3 separate regions of the Homo sapiens genome follow, and regions 1 and 2 are each linked to region 3. The links are contacts of gene promoters, found by promoter capture Hi-C in blood cells and fetal thymus (Javierre and others, 2016). All regions are on one chromosome and are shown on one strand. Each heading gives the region's core, a stretch centred on a gene start or on the middle of the fragment in contact. The rest is flanking DNA. Distances are from core to core; before and after follow the strand shown. Region 1 holds the start of ZNHIT6 (zinc finger HIT-type containing 6). Region 2 holds the start of CTH (cystathionine gamma-lyase). Region 3 holds the start of ACADM (acyl-CoA dehydrogenase medium chain).

What was found. Contacts are between HindIII fragments. The CHiCAGO score rates a contact against its expected background, and 5 or more counts as called.
Region 1: a contact is called between the fragment with the promoter of ZNHIT6 here and the fragment with the promoter of ACADM in region 3, in 1 of 17 cell types (fetal thymus). The highest score is 6.5, in fetal thymus.
Region 2: a contact is called between the fragment with the promoter of CTH here and the fragment with the promoter of ACADM in region 3, in 3 of 17 cell types (non-activated CD4 T cells, total CD8 T cells and total B cells). The highest score is 7.2, in non-activated CD4 T cells.

The regions. Positions count from the first base shown.
Region 1 is chr1:85,707,183-85,710,106 of GRCh38, forward strand. ZNHIT6 (zinc finger HIT-type containing 6) reads right to left here and starts at 1,251. Exons shown (of 10, transcript NM_017953.4): 1 at 447-1,251. The coding sequence starts at 1,102. RefSeq lists enhancers at 508-1,341, 1,044-1,403, 1,342-2,174. The HindIII fragment of the contact is 1,595 bases long and covers 23-1,617 here.
Region 2 is chr1:70,409,549-70,412,517 of GRCh38, forward strand. It overlaps CTH (cystathionine gamma-lyase), which reads left to right and starts at 1,720. Exons shown (of 12, transcript NM_001902.6): 1 at 1,720-2,035. The coding sequence starts at 1,868. RefSeq lists an enhancer at 1,291-1,550 and a silencer at 1,611-1,760. The HindIII fragment of the contact is 3,560 bases long and covers 522-2,969 here.
Region 3 is chr1:75,722,926-75,726,150 of GRCh38, forward strand. It overlaps ACADM (acyl-CoA dehydrogenase medium chain), which reads left to right and starts at 1,784. Exons shown (of 12, transcript NM_000016.6): 1 at 1,784-1,892. The coding sequence starts at 1,863. It also overlaps a transcript of SLC44A5 not described here. RefSeq lists enhancers at 1,170-1,259, 1,910-1,999 and silencers at 1,630-1,679, 1,730-1,779. The HindIII fragment of the contact is 3,396 bases long and covers 1-2,280 here.

The sequences.
Region 1 (2,924 bases), core at 1-2,500, about 10 Mb after region 3:
ATATTCACAGCACCCATGAAGAAGCTTGATAATTGAGGTCAAGTGTATTTTTGCCTAGTTTTAACTTAATCTACTTTGTCATTGTTAGTTTTATTAGACTTTCTCATCTCTATTCTCTCTCAAAGGAATACCGAGTAAAGAGCATATTAAGTCAAGCCAGATCCAGTTCCAACTGATCTTTTGGTCCCCAGAATTTCCACTTTCCTAACTTGACCATTACCCATTGGACACTACTAATTTCATGTATTTTCACTGAATTTGTTGTGTTGTCATGTACAACACCCTCCACTTCCCAACCCACCCCCGCGAACGCCGTCTGACTCCAGAAACCCAAACTTGTGCTCATTTTTCATTATTCCACCTTCTCCTGATAGTGTGGTTTCCTTCACTCTAGACATGAGGACTCCACAGCTTTATTCCCCTAAATGGAATCCCCCATGCCCTACCTTGACATGGCCAGTTTCCGCTTGCAGCCCACCGGGTGATTTATCGGAGGCTCTTCTTTCACCTTTGTATCATCCACGATTTCTTTCTTCAGGAAATCCTTCTCTTCTTTTACACACTCTCCATGCATCAATTCCTCTTTTATGCATTGACCAACAAACTTCTCCTCCTGTTTTATCTCCAAGTTATCCTTCTCTTCCTTCACTTCTGACCAGTCCATTACCTCTTCCTTTACCTTCTCTTCCTTTACCTCTGGTTCACCCACCTTCGCTTCTTTTACCACTAAACTACTATCCGTCTCCTGCTTCACCTCCAATACGCCTGCGTTCTCATCCTTCACCTCAGGCCTATCCTCCACCTCCTGTTCTACCCACTGGCCAGCCAACCTGCCTTCTGTACCTGGCCAGTCTATAATTTCCTGCTTCACTACCGTTAGGTCCATCGGTATTTCCTCTGGCCTTTGTCCACTTCCTTCCTCTCCATCCCCTATCTCCTTTATCCCTGTCAGCCCTGTCCCCTCCTCTCCGCCGCCGAACTCCTCCGCCCCTGCTAAGTCCCTTACTCCCTCCCTGCCAGGCTCTGGACTTAGCCGCACCCCCTCAGCTACGCTGTGGAGACCTCCCCCAGACTTCCCTTCATTTTCAGCAGCAAACTCCATCAACTCACGATCCTTGGCCTCTGCTGCCACTCTATCCTTCAATGTGGCTGCTGCACACCAATAGGAGGAATTACCGGTCGGAATACCTACGGCGGCCCACGTGTGGAGCCAAGCAGCCACAAACCCGGAATAGCCTGCTTGACGCGACTGCTCGAATCGCCGTAAAGCTACGCTTTTGCGCCTCGCCCCTTCACGACTTGTAGAGCTCTTTACGGCTCTGCGGAGGCCCTGCCGGATTCTCTGGGCGAACAAGCGTAACTGCGTGACTTGCCCGCTGGGGTTCTCGTCTCCTTCCTGGTTTCCACCACCCTCTTCCCTTAGAGAAGCCTCCTGGGCCACTCCCTGGGCCACCCTCCACGCCCTGCTGGGTGTAAAGAGTGTAGGAGACCGGCAGAGGGAGAGAAGCGAAACCCTTACACTCTGGAAGTGGGAAAACCCACCCTAATCTGTGTTAACCATTAAATCCAATCTTGCATGAAAATGGAGGACACACCTGATGTTATTAGGCCTTTCCAAGCTTTAGTTTCTTAAAGCTATAAACTAGGGACCATGGTATTATTAATATAAATCTCCCAGTGTCATTGCAAAGATTATATGAGATCATGCATGGAAATCAACTAGCAGTGACGGACACAAACTCGATATATAACTGGGAATCCTGATGGGCTTCAAACCGCCTGGTTTCCACCACCCCCTTCCCTTAGGGAAGCCTCCTGGGCCACACCCTAGGCCACCCTCCACGCCCTACTGGGTGTAAACAGTGGAGGAGACCGGCAGAGGGAGAGAAGCGAAACCCTTACACTCTGGAAATGGGAAAACCCACCCTTATCTGTGTTAACCATTAAATCCAATCTTGTATGAAAAAGGACACACCTGATGTTACACCTTTGCAAGCTTTAGTTTCTTGAAGCTATAAACTAGGGAGCATGGTATTATTAATATAAATCTCCCAGTGTCATTGCGAAGATAATATGAGATCATGCATAGGAATCAACTGTCAGTGACAGACACAAACTCAGTGTATAACTGGGAATCATGATGGGTTTCAAGTAGGAAAGAGGGCATTAATTTTTCTTTCCATTCTTTCTAAGTAACAGCCTGCGTCAGGCTATTCCCCATTCCCAGCATTCTGCAGGATTCTCTCAGAGAACATCATAAATATATTAGGCGAAAGTGCCTAATGCCCGGTATTGCTGAATAACATTGCATTGTATGAATGTGGCACGTTTTTTCATGCATGTACCAGTTGGTGGGCATTTGGCTTGTTTCCAGTTTGGGCTATTACGAATAATTCTGCTTCCACATTCATATGCAAGTCTTTGTGTGGACATGTTTACATTTCCCGTTAAGTAAATAACTAGGAGTGGAATTGCTGGGCCATATAAATTTATGTTAATTTTTAAAGAAATGCCCAAACTGTTTTCCAAAGTAGCTATACCATTTTACATTCCTACTGGCTGAGGGTTCCTATTTCTCTACATCCCGGCCAATTCTTAGTATTATCAGTTATTTGATTATAGATGTGTAGGGGTACGTCATTGAGAATTTACATTTCTTTAATGACTAATGATGTTGAACATCTTTTCATCTGCCAACTGGCCATTTGGATATTTTCTTTAATGAAATGTTTATTCAGATCTTTTGCCCATTTTTAATTGACGTCTTTTATTATCAAATTGTAGTAGTTCTTCATATATTATGGATATAGGTTTGTGGTAGACAAGCACCAGTATGTTCCCCAGTGATTCTCCACCCCCACAGTGTTCAGACCAATGTGTAGACTGCTCCTGCATCATCCCAGGATTGGTCTGTGTCACTGATA
Region 2 (2,969 bases), core at 470-2,969, 5.3 Mb before region 3:
GTTCAAGCGATTCTCCTGTCTCAGGCTCCCAAGGAGCTGGGATTACAGGTGTGCACCACTACGCCCAGCTAAGTTTTGTGTTTTTTGTAGAGATGGGGTTTCACCCTGCTGGCCAGGCTGGTCTCGAACTCTTGACTTCAGGTGATTCGCCCACCTCGGCCTCCCAAAGTGCTGGGATTAATAGGCGTTAGCCAATGCACCCAGCCTAGTGCTGTCTTCTGAATGATTCTTTATTACAGTACACTAAATAAAATGTCTGTATTTATGCAACTCAGGGTTTGTCAGCAAATATTAGGAGGTAAAACTAATTGGAACTGTTTTAGACCCTTTTGGCCCCTAAATGCCATATCATATTACACAAAAATACCCACCTATAGTTATACATAAATATTGAGGTGAGTTGCAGTTGATGTTATATTTTTAAAAGAAAAATATTAATTAAATATGTATTAATATACATTAGTGTTTTGAAGTCTATCCATTTTTTCCCCCAGCCATACAAAGTTTGGTAGGATTCTAAAAGCTTGTAGGCCCTCAAGCACCACTCCTCTAGTGCTTAATGGGTTAAATGTCCCTAAAGCTAATTTGAAAAGCAAATTGCCTCATTCTTTCTCTTCATATCTTTCTTTCAAACTGTAAATTTTAAGAGCTGTTTATTCCTTATTCTCCTTGTTCTTAATTTGTTTAATAAAGTTTTAGATCTTTAGCGAATATTTTGCAACAACAGAAATATCCCCAAATTTCCTGGTGCTAGAAAACAGCCACAATAGTAAGTAGGTCAAGTCTGTATTGCTTAGGGAACAGGGAGATTTTTGTTTTAAAGCAGTGATTCTTCTGAGAGTAGGGCTCTGGGCGCAGGTGAGTGGTAAACAATCCTTTTTCCTGCAGGGATGTTGCTGTTGTGTAAAAGCAAAAGCATTTTGTGTAAGGATGTTAGGCTCCAGTAAGTATTTCAAAGCCACATTATCTTTCTCATTAGGGGGAGTTTCTCTCTGTACTTTAAAAGAAGATAATGATGCTTGAAAAAGCTCAAGATTGACTAACTTTTAGGAAGCTGCCAGAGTTGTGCATAGACGTCCTCACTACAGTAGCTTCGTTATGTCTTACGAACAATTTAACCTTCACTTCTAGTCATCGTTTCGTCATCGTAAGCACTGGGTCATTACAGAGTTCAGTGTACCTAAAACGCAAGCTGTGACTGATGAGAATCCAAGCTGCAAACTGGGCGGCTTGGGCAACTGTTTTCTTAACCACCCTCCACGTTGTGGCTTACGTCTTTTAGCACCGCCCTCAGGGCAAAGGATGGTGGTCAGAGGTAACTACCACAGTAAAAGAAGGCTATTTATGTGGTCTGTTTACAGTTACCCGGTTTCAACACTAAGCCAGCTTTCCGCCACGTCTCGGGCGAACCTCCGGCCTGAGGTCACAGAGACGCCCGGGTGGCTCTCAGGAGCCAGCATGGCAGCCTCCTCAGGACGGGTACTCAGGAATTTCGCCCGCAGGGACTAACACCACTTGGACCCAGGGACTCCAGCTTCACTCCGCTTTGTGCACTGGGTGGGGCGGTCGCGGTGACGTTTCAGGCAACGCCTCTGCTGTCAGCCAATAAGGAGCGGGAGACGCGTCGGGCCTGCGCTCAATGGGCCGCGCTGGTCCCGCCCCACTGTGATCGTGAGACTGCAGACCCGCTAATAAAATCCACCCCAACAATCGCTGTGTGCCGCTTTAGTGCGCTCGCCGTCGGCTCTACCTGCGTGCTTTAGCTCCTTCTCGCCTGATCCTTCTGTCTCTCCCAACCCCGGACACCCGGCTTCGACTGGTTATATCTTCGGTGTTCTTTTCCTCTCTTCTTCTTTCGCGGTTCAGCATGCAGGAAAAAGACGCCTCCTCACAAGGTTTCCTGCCACACTTCCAACATTTCGCCACGCAGGCGATCCATGTGGGCCAGGATCCAGAGCAATGGACCTCCAGGGCTGTAGTGCCCCCCATCTCACTGTCCACCACGTTCAAGCAAGGGGCGCCTGGCCAGCACTCGGTGAGCTGGGTCTGTCTGGGGCTGTCCACAGTTGGGCGGTAAAAGAGATACGGCTTATGAATTTGAAAGGCATGTAAGTAATTTATAATATGACTTATAAATTAGGAAGGCAACCGAAAGATGTTTCTACACTGTAATTCTTGCAGCACAGCTTTGTATCGGATGGTCCAGTGATCGTATTTCTTTTGATAAGCAGGACTGGAAGGAGCCGTTTGTCCAGCTTGCCATTTAGATTTGGCCTGAAATTCAGGTGATTTTGACAAATTTGCAATTAAAAATCGAAGGTCATAACTTTTTTGAGTTACCTTTAGCAGCATAAATTTTAAAGATGTAGTACGGAGTCAGCTTAAAAAATATTAAGGGTCTGATAACTTGACTAGAATTAAGATTGTTTCCAGTAGCTGTATGAATAGTTATTGAGTACCTACTATATGCCAAATACGTGCTCGTATATATCATGTGTATTACATGTATTGTCTCATCTAATCCTAACAACAACCCTAGTCTGAACCGAATTCTCATTTTTTCCCAATAAAGAAGCTGAGATTTAGGGAGTTAAGTAACTAGCCTTAGACTAGTAAGTATTGGAGATGGAATTCAAACTTTAGAAACTTGAGGTTGCTTTAGGAACCAACTCCTAGGCACTCAGCTACACTATGCTATCTCTAATAATGCTAGTAACAATTTAGCCTATTGCGTCATTTAAGCACTGTGGCTTAGTGATTAAGAACACAACTCATGACCGGGTGCAGTGGCTTACGCCTGTAATCCCAGCACTTTGGGAGGCTGAGGCGGGTGGATCACCTGAGGACAGGAGTTCGAGCCCAGCCTGGCCAACATGGTGAAACCCCATCTCTACTAAAAATAAATAAATTAGCTGGGCATGGTGGCGGGTAATCTCAGCTACTCGGGAAGCTGAGGCAGGAGAATCGCT
Region 3 (3,225 bases), core at 534-3,033:
TTTTAGCCTAGATATTTGCCCTGGCATGCTTATACTGGTCCAAGGAAGCATTAGGCCATAGCCTGTTTTCTTCCTTATCTGGAGGTGTTTTTACCTTTCTCAGCATTCCACAAGTTGCTTCCTCCTTCCTTTGTTCTCCTCTGTCTTTGCCTCTTTTGGAAAGTTCTAAGTTGCTAGCCAATCAGGACAAGTACAGAGGTCCCCTTCCAGCCAATGGAAACCGGACACGGTAGTAGGGTGCACGTGTCAGGTTATAAATGACCCTGTCTCCTTTATGCGTGTGTGCTCTCGTGGCAAGACTACTAGCGAGCGGCAACCTTTCTGCAGAAAGTAAACTAGCCTTGCTAAGAGCTCCTTTGTCTCAGTGTTGATTTTTGCAACACTGAGCGCCCGTTCCCAACATCAGTAAGGCTTTTCTTTTTAATGAAAAGCAGCCCCAAATCCTTTTCTAAGAGCAGCCTGTGAAGTCGAGCTGCAGGCACAGACAAACAAGGGGGTAGCTTGCTTGGGTGAATGGTGGCAGGAACTACCGACTAGACATGTTTAAGATGAGGGCTCCATCTTCGCTTCTCTGCCAGCCACGTGTACAGTAAGAAGGGGTTACAATAGGCATATGGGTGATTTTGTGCTTTTCGTTCATCTTTTCTGTGTTTAAAATGTTCAGAATAAGAAATTGGAACAAAGGAGACATGAATAGACAATTCCTAATCATCTTTAAGAGTCCGCTTTGTGTTTTACTTACCACCACCACTTTGAAGGCTTTCTTGCCTATACCAGGACAAACTCAGCTCTTTATCCCTTTTCCGAATTTTCCTGGTACTTTCACTTTGAATATAGCGCTTAATTAACATTCTGCCTTGTACCTAGGACTAACACACTATAAATTCCCAGAAGACAAAGTAGGGGAATACAATAACAGGATATAGAATTTTAACAGCTAAATTAGATGAATTTATGGGTGACCTTTATTGGGCAAAAGAAAATGTTAAGTTAGTATAAGATTTAGTATAAGCTACCATCTCAAAACTCAGGGTCTCACTGGAAGAGAAAGTGACTCCAGGTAGAATTCCTCAGGGAGACATTCACTTCCATCATTCGCTGAACCAGGAGCTTTGGACAGCCTCGGATTGCACCCGCATATCCAAGGACACCACATCAGCGGACAAGTCATAAACAGCCTTGGGAATACGCGGAAAGGTCAAATTTACCTAAACAATTAAATTCTCTTTTAAATTTTAAGGAAACACAAGTATGCTTTCGCTTTAGGTAGGGCATTTGAGAGCAAAATGTACTAATACTTTGAATCCGCCAAGCAGACACGATCTGGGTTTGACCGTTCTCTCCGGGTAAAGGTGAAGGCTGACCACGGGGGCCGCTCTCCCTCCAGGCCCCAGCCACGCCCTCTAACCCAGGTTCCCGTCCTGCACCGCGCCGCAAGTCCCCCCACCGTTCAGCGCAACCGGGCCCTCCCAGCCCCGCCGCCGTCCCCCTCCCCCGCCCTGGCTCTCTTTCCGCGCTGCGGTCAGCCTCGGCGTCCCACAGAGAGGGCCAGAGGTGGAAACGCAGAAAACCAAACCAGGACTATCAGAGATTGCCCGGAGAGGGGATGCGACCCCTCCCCAGGTCGCAGCGACGGCGCACGCAAGGGTCACGGAGCATGCGTTGGCTACCCGGCGCCGGGGACCGCTGCCACCCCGCCTAGCGCAGCGCCCCGTCCTTCCGCAGCCCAACCGCCTCTTCCCGCCCCGCCCCATCCCGCCCACGGGCTCCAGTGGGCGGGACCAGAGGAGTCCCGCGTTCGGGGAGTATGTCAAGGCCGTGACCCGTGTATTATTGTCCGAGTGGCCGGAACGGGAGCCAACATGGCAGCGGGGTTCGGGCGATGCTGCAGGGTGAGAGGGAGCCCAGCGGTGCGGTGGGGCTGGAACATGGGTATTGTGGTGTCGGAGCAGGGGGCCCTGGGCCAAAAATAGGTGCGGCCGGGAGGAGTGGGAAGTCGGGCTGAGGAAGGAGCCAGCCTAGGGGCCCCCAACCTGCTTTCACGCCTCCTACCACCGGACGGAACGTAGCCTAGCGTTTCATTTTCCGTATCCTCCCGTCAGGCGACCCCGTTATAGCCGGCATCCTCTCTTTAGAATATCGTTTTTCTTTCTCTGGTAAACCCTCCAAATATTTACCGCGGGAATCCCACCTTTTTCCAAAGTGACCCCGTCTCTGTGTCAGAACCACGGGAAAAAGAAAAATGGAGCAGCTACTCCTTGAAATACTTAATGTTTAATAAGCTTTTCGTTGTAACGTTTCCACGTTGCTTACGGGAAAAAAAAAAGTAAAAAAAAAACCTGCAGAATTTTATGTGAACTTGTGTGTATATTCTAGTATTGGATCTTAATAGATTCTAAATAAGTTTGTCACTAGATGAATTTTGGTATCTTAAATATTCTTGATATGTTCACACCACTGCCATTTAGATGTCACTTAAAATTAAGTTAAAGTTATGTCTTGGACCAAAAAAGCTGCGGTTTTAGAATAATCCTAAAGAATTGCTGCCCATGTTTTGCTGGTGTTATGCAAGTTAATGTGCAGTGAAGGCAGAAATTGGGAGATTTCAGCTATTTTTAACTCCTACACCAGAAAAGCAGATTTCTCAACCTCCAAGGAAGGATCTAAAAAAAACCTGATATAGAAAACTTACACCCTTTTTCTCTTCTTTAACCCATAAAACTGACACTCTTATATTCCCAAGAAATGCACAAAAGTGTTCAATTCTAGTGGTGCTGTTTCGATATTTGGAATTTCATTGTTCTAGACAGAGAGCCCGAAGTAATAAAACCAATAGTTATATAGCATTAGGCTTTCAAAACATTATCGTACTTTAATCGTCCGAAAATACGCAGTGAGATTAGTCCCATTTTTTGGTTTTGAACGGAAGCTATAAGCAGTTTGTAAACCTGTCTACGGCCACAAATATGGTTGTGGAACCTAGATTCACATTCAGCAATTATAACTCCAGATCCCGTGCTGTTTCTGTTTTCTATTTGCAAACCACCTCTCTAATTAACTGGCTAACTTTGTTATGTAATTAACAGGTTGATGGGCATTGTATTCTGGTAATAGCAACCTTTGCACTTTGTTCTATGTAACATATTTTCCTGAACAGTCACATGTGAAGTGACTTTTTCCCTATTTAAATTCCCTCGGTTGGCCAGGTGCGGCGGCTCACGGTTG